2 separate regions of the Homo sapiens genome follow, and region 1 is linked to region 2. The links are contacts of gene promoters, found by promoter capture Hi-C in human tissues and cell types (Jung and others, 2019). All regions are on one chromosome and are shown on one strand. Each heading gives the region's core, a stretch centred on a gene start or on the middle of the fragment in contact. The rest is flanking DNA. Distances are from core to core; before and after follow the strand shown.

Region 1 (3,656 bases), core at 1,043-3,542, 120 kb before region 2:
TCAACTCCACAGTCTTGGATTTCTATTAATTCTTATCACTGTTTGAAATAATTTTTGCTTCTGCCTATCAAGCAAAGGTCAATTTCTTTTGTTTTCTGGATTTGCTTTGTAGTTTTCTGTTGTGATGACAGTTTTTCAAGGGTGTTTATTTTTAACTATGTTCCACTGTTAATTAACCATACTTGGCCAACCATCTTGTCCTGAGAGAATAAGTGAACATATCAATAGGTCTCTGTGTTGTTCCGAAAATACTGTTGTGCATTGCTGTATGTTCTCTTGAACCATCATCTTGTTTGTTTTTCATGATGGCCAGCTATGCTTCCAGTTCTCTATCCATTAGCAGCCCTCTCTTTTTACCATGTCTCTCTTTTTTCTTTTTCTTTTTTTTTTTTTTTTTGAGATGGAGTCTCACTCTGTCATCCAGGCTAGAGTCCAGTGGCTTGATCTCAGCTCACTGAAACCTCTGCCTTCCAGGTTCAGGCGACTGTCCTGCCTCAGCCTCCCGAGTAGCTGGGATTACAGGTGCACACCACCACAGCTGGTTAATTTTTGTATTTTTAGTAGAGGCGTGGTTTCACCATGTTGGCCAGGCTGGTCTCGAACCCCTGACCTAAAGTGATCTGCCCACCTCAGCCTCCCAAAGTGTTGGGATTACAGGTGTGAGTCACCATGCCCAACCGCTCTTTTCACCACCTCTGTGTGATCTATTTTCAGTTGCTCTGCTTAAAAATGAACTCCTTACTGCATAGAAATTGCCTAGTATCTTAGCCAATTCAAGCTGCTTTAACAAAATACCACAGACCAAGTGGCTTGAACAATGGAAATTTATTTCTCATTCTTCTGAAGTCCCAGATCAGGGTGCCAGTGTCACTGGGTTCCGGTGAGGACCCACTTCTCAGTTTATAGAAAGCTGTCTTTATGAGATGACTTCACATAGCAGGGAGAAAGTGTGAGCTCCAGTCTCATTCTCTTCTTATAAAGACACTAATACCGTCATGAAGATTTCACTTTCATGACCTCCTCTACAACTCTCAAAGTTTCACTCTCAAAGACCTCACTTCCAAATCCCATCACATTGGGGGTTAACATTTCAACATATGAATTTAGTGGGTACACAAATATCCGGTCTGTAACATCTAGCTACTAACAAATTCAAGCAATAAAATTTGCATAATTCTGAAGGGTCTACTGGTGCTTAAGAACTTCACCCATATTATATCACCCATATCAATATTTCATTTTTCCAAGATGAAAAAAGAATGGTGAACATGAATTAAAAAATCAATAATAGAAATAGTGTCATGGACATGTTTTTACCTTTCTTTCGCTTTTCATTGCATTAAAAAAATTAAAACCTAAGTATAGGATGAATTCTGATATATTTTGAAAGACAGGTCTGTGTATTTCATGTGATATATTTGATGTCTCTACTAAAGTACTGGAAATCCAGGGAGATAACTGAAAAAAGCAAAACTGTATACTGTGGAAATTTTCCTATAAATTAATGAGTAATTTATATATGGAGAATTGATGATGTGAAATACCCTAATTCTAATGATTTCAGGAAAAATTTTAAAAAAGAAAGAATTTGCTGGTAATAGCAGCTACTGAGTATTAAATGTTCTCTATACAATACATTCTTTTTATCACTCTACTTTATACTTAAAACATTTTTAGAAAGCAGGGGTCATTACTCTCCTTTTATAATTGAATAAATTAAAACTCAAGAGAGACTGCCTTTTTTAAGGCCACACAGACTTTGCTGGTTGAATCTACAGAAATGGAATTCAGAAGCAGACCTAAAGCCCACATTCTTTTCTGTATTGCCTACCATCTCCTTAAAGAGAACTAGGGAAACAGAATTTCTTACATTGGCATATATGGTCAGAGTTAATTAAGATATAAAATATGTTCAAAACATTTTTCGTCCTTGCTTAGCACATTGTTGTAAAAATTTTGCATGGCCAACCTTCGCAATTTTTAAAACATACCTGCTTCACTGAAATTTGAAATCTACCTCTTTAGATACTCTATTCAAAGGAGTTTCTACTGGGGAAATATTGGCAATTTCAATAAAATTATTCCTTGTTTAGAATTTGAGAGAGTTCCCTGTGCTGAAGGTACCAGTGGCACCCCTTTTTCCTTCACTTCCCATGCTTGTCCCCATCTTCGTGATTCCTTAATTACAGACTAGGTCGTGATACTGAATGACCTAACCACCACTGAACAAGTATTTGGCTAAAGTAAGCATTAAACTATTTCAATGCAATGAAAGTGAACAGTTACATGTGTCTGTGCCCTCAGCTAATTATAATACAGAGAAACTTTCCTTTGTATTTTATAGGGACTTCTTAGTGACCAACAGAGGAATGATTCTATGGTTACCTTCATTAGTCCATTAAAATTGCTTTTTCAGGTGACTCACTAACAACTTTTCTTTTTACCTTTTCCAAACGCTAAAATTAAAAAAAAAAAAACATTTTTAAGTTGTATAAAACTGTTTTCCACATGGTTATTTTTGGAATTGCTTGAAAAACAAATTTTTTAAAAAAATCCCTTAATCTCCCATAATAATCCTTTCTACTGAAATGTAAAGCATATGAAGCATTGAATGAGGAGAACAAACGGTCCATGACAAAAGTTTCTGGCCAGGCAGAGACTGTAATTAGTACTAAAAATGATAACATCAGATAATGAACAGGACCAAAACAGAGCACTTTTCATAATTTTATTTTGAATCCACAGCAATTCACAAGTTTAAGTCATGTTAATTATAAAAAGGAAGAGAAGAGAAAAGGCACATAGGATAATAGATAATATATTTAATATGACTATGCTTAAAATAATATATTTTAATAAATATTACTTAATCCTAGTCATAAGAACTACTTAATAATTACTAAGTTATATGAACAATTAAGATTAAGTGATATCATATTAGTTAACCATATGATTTCAGCCTCCCAACGCCCTTATTAGAAAAGCCCTTTATTATGTCAGTTTTACTAGGAAACTGGAATTTACAAAGTTTAAATAACTGACCCAAATCCTCACAACAAACTGGTAAAAAAAGCCAATATGGGAACTCTATTCTGTCAAACACCTGAGGCTACACTCTTGACCCACTATGTGCTACAAGTCATTATAGACCTACCTGTAAACCTAATTGAAAGCTTGTGTCAATGTGTAGTTTTATCTCTTATAAAGCATATAAGTTTTGGTAGATCAGAAGGAGTTCTCTGAAACAATGTCCTTCACATTGTGAATTTTCAATAGGATTTTGAGCATTATAAGGAGAAATGAAGTGTTTCCATTTTCTGCAGCAACATGCATTGTTTAATATGAGAAATCATAAGATATGAGGGAAATCATAAGATATAAGGGAAAAGTCCACACAAATGGAAAACACATACAAGGGTGCACACACACACACATACACACACACACAAAATGTCCTTATAAGCAAACAATGAATATAGGAGCACAAGAAACAATTTCCCTTGTAAAGTTGAAGTTAACAGGACAGGGAACAGGACAGGGAAAAGTAATTAACTGGGCAAATAGAGCTAAGCCACATTACTGATTAATTTGCAAAACAATTAACTTTCCACTTAAAATTCAAATTAAGATTCTGTCTGCCTTAGGCAACCAGTGTT
Region 2 (3,471 bases), core at 972-3,471:
AAACTGAGGTGGTTAAATAACTTGCACACAGTCACACAGTTGGAACTTAAACAGCCATCACTAAGCAAAGCTAAGATTCCAGCTCAAGGAAATCCATATTCAGAGTTCATGCTCTCAACCACTACCTTATTTTGCCCTGAAAAAATGTGAGATCCAAGGCCAGGCATGGTGGCTCACGCCTGTAATCCCAGCACTTTGGGAGGCCGAGGCAGGCGGATCACGAGGTCAGGAGATTGAGACCATCCTGGCTAATGTGGTGAAACCCGTTTCTACTACAAATACAAAAAATTAGCCGGGCATGGTGGCAGGCACCTGTAGTCCCAGCTACTCGGGAGTCTGAGGCAGGAGAATGGCGTGAACCCAGGAAGCAGAGCTTGCAGTGAGCCGAGATTGCGCCACTGCACTCCAGCCTGGGTGACATAGCGAGACTCCATCTCAAAAAAAAAAAAAAAAATTGAAAGATCAATTTAAGAACACACCAAAAGTTTCAGAATAGCTAAGCTACCTAAATAAAATTAATCAATTTCAAACATCTGACTCTATGGTCTTATGATGTTCATATGAGTATATTTTCCATCTTCTGTTGACTACCACCATGAGTTATTCTTTTCTGGTTCACACTATAAAAATTATAACAAGAGGATATGTTCTCTTTTCTTCTAAATATTTATACTATTTTCATTAGGTAACAAACGAAGAAACAAAAAGCCTGTAACATAACACCTGCAAAAGGATTGAATAAAAATAATAGTGTGACAAGTCCAAATTTTGCTTCCAAAGAAAGCAAATTTATTTAATACAAAGAATATTTTCCAAACTCAAAAAATACTTAAGAAATAATGAAAACAGGAAAAAAACAAACAACCAAAAAAACAACGGGAACGAAATGAAGTGAAGATTCTAAACTTCAATTCATTCTATTTAAAGGCTTCTGGTTGCTACGTGGTTATAAAGCCCATGGAGGTGAAATTCAAAATTACCTTGCTCTATTCGAACAATAGACTTAATCTTCTAGTTAATTTGAGAATGTTGTGATTCAATGGCTAAAATAACAGATGGCCAGTGAGTAGGCCTGGATTTTAGTTGTGGTTCTGATGTTATTAACTACTTGGGCAACCTCTGATAGAGTTGAACCTATCGTAATTCACAGGACTAGGTAGGCTTTTAGGTTTGGTTCCAATATTTTATGAATTTCTGAGACTAGTAGCACATTACTTAATAAACCAGATCCAATGCTAAGTATTTCCAAAGAAAACAACTTGCAGTTAAAGTGTGATGTTTCCTTTAAGTATTCATGTTATTTCCTGGCTACAGCTCTTATTGCTTAATAACAAATCGTATCCTACTGCTCTAAAATAGCTAGCATGCTTTCCAACCCCAGATTACCACTAGACATACCCAAAAGAAAAACAAGAAAAAAAATCTTGTCTTTGGAGACAGTAGTAAAATAAGACATGTTCATTTACTAACAAACACACACAACATTTTTTATTTAAAGAAATACAAAATATCTAAGTATCTCAAAAATAAATTCATCCAAATGAGAATATAAGCCATCTCCCCTACAGATCTTCACTTACTAGGCAATTGAGAACCACCAGTAACACAGCAAGTTGGTTCAACTCCTGGAGAAGATTCCAGGAGTTGTGGCTCAGGTGCAACATTGACCAGAGGTCTACAGGAACTGGATTCAGGGTTCTGAGACTGACACTGACATTGGCTAGATGCACGTTCCAGAGTTTCGAAATTTTTAGACTTAGAAGTCTTGGGTGGGCAACTGTTTCCCTTGAGGCTTGCAGGTTGGCAGCTCTGGGCTACAAAACCCATCTGCTGAGTGCTTTCTGATTGGCAAGGCTGAGAAACACAAGCCAGCCCTGCTGAAGAACTTTCTGATTGGCACGCTGTCCTTTCGCAGGGCCTGGAATTGGAGTAAGTAGTTTGGACAACTCCGGGGAAGCAGTTACTTTGCACACAGCTATCGTCTGTGAATAAGTCCTGTTCACAATTGGTCATTTGGCAGCTGGTGGTTTCATTGCAGGTTTCTTGAAAGTTGTCCAGGAAACAGGTTCTGCTATGGAAGCTGCTGGGCAAACACAATCTGTCTTCAAAGGTTATAGGATTAGTGCCATGTGTGATGGCAGAGAGTGGTGGGGCATTGTGGAAGCTCCTGAGTGAATGGCAGTGGCTATGAGGCATATTGCTAAAAATCCTTAAAGATGGTCATAAGGACTCAACATGCTGAGTTTGAAAATTAAATTCTTTGGTGCGGCGATTATATACTCAGAAACCTGGGTGTTGGCTTCTCAAGACTTCTTTGCAACTCATTGCTTAAACTAATTTGAAGGATAACATCTCATTACCACTTTGGTTATATATGCAGATGATGTCTTATTAACAAAGATGTAAGTCCATTTTGAATCTTCAAAATGGCTTTTATGTTAGCTCCAAAGATGACTCATTCAAGGTGGGGTTGGTCAAATAAGAGTCTAAACCTGTCCAACCAAGCTAACATTTTTTTTTTTTTTTGCCACCATGACTCTGCACATTGGTAAGTGGACAATGAGAAATGCATGAGGCAGTGGCCAACTGAATACTGATTAACATTTAGCACTGGTTTTGAGAGCTGCCAATGTAGCAGAATGTGGTAATTTGATGTTCAAGACATTTAAAGTTAGAATTGGATCCAGGTTGAGCCCAATCTCATTCCACTCAGATATTGTTCTCTCCAGTGGACCAGAATGTGAGAGGACTTTGTGATCACATTCCTTCTCAGTGTTCATGCAAAGTACTGAGTGTGGCCATTGCCCAATAAATACTTGTCTTTTGCCTAACATTTCGTTTCCCTAATCTCCTTGAAAGCCAAGTTTAAATGCGTCCTTTTCCTGAAGTCTTCCCCAATCTTCCCATTTAGGAGTTATTTCTTCCTTTTCTGAATTACTAATGGATTTAATTCCTTTTTTCTATACTTGACAAAGTGGTGTGTTTACTTGTGTTTGTGCTTCTCAAAGGTTGATTATTTTCCTTTATAATGAACCTTCTTCAGATATTTTTCATCTTTATTCTGTGCTTTTTTTATTGACTGCAGACAGATGATCAGTTCCTATGTTTATCGCATTAGGACACCGTTCTTAGCATAGTTTCATACTCATGGCACAGAGCCAACCAGCACAATTTCTATAACATATTCTATAATATATTTGGCTCAGCTAATGACAATAAAATAGAAGTATAGTCTTAGTGCACTAACTAGACTCCCTTTCTAAGGTCTGAAGAAGCCCAAGAACATTCAGCAATTCTCAGTAATTCTTATGCAAACACTTCCTTGAAAGACTGAGGATATTATAAATTTAAAAGGGCACATCTGAATACTTTCAGCTTTATAGGCTGCACACTCATCTTGTATACAATACCTTTGTAACACACGCAAGTCATTTATAATTTTGAATAACCACACTTGTATGTTTAAAGATC

The links. The method cuts DNA at HindIII sites, captures the fragments that hold promoters and counts their contacts. A contact is called where the count stands out against the background at its distance.
Region 1: a fragment that was not itself captured here is called in contact with the fragment with the promoter of KRTAP27-1 in region 2 in 3 of the 25 tissues and cell types used here (heart right ventricle, ovary and small bowel).

The regions. Positions count from the first base shown.
Region 1 is chr21:30,219,318-30,222,973 of GRCh38, forward strand. No RefSeq gene overlaps it. Among named protein-coding and RNA genes, the nearest start is that of CLDN8, 5.0 kb to the left of the region's middle. The HindIII fragment of the contact is 8,230 bases long and covers 1-3,656 here.
Region 2 is chr21:30,335,473-30,338,943 of GRCh38, forward strand. KRTAP27-1 (keratin associated protein 27-1) reads right to left here and starts at 2,222. Exons shown (of 1, transcript NM_001077711.1): 1 at 1,541-2,222. The coding sequence starts at 2,196. The coding sequence ends at 1,573. The HindIII fragment of the contact is 14,979 bases long and covers 1-3,471 here.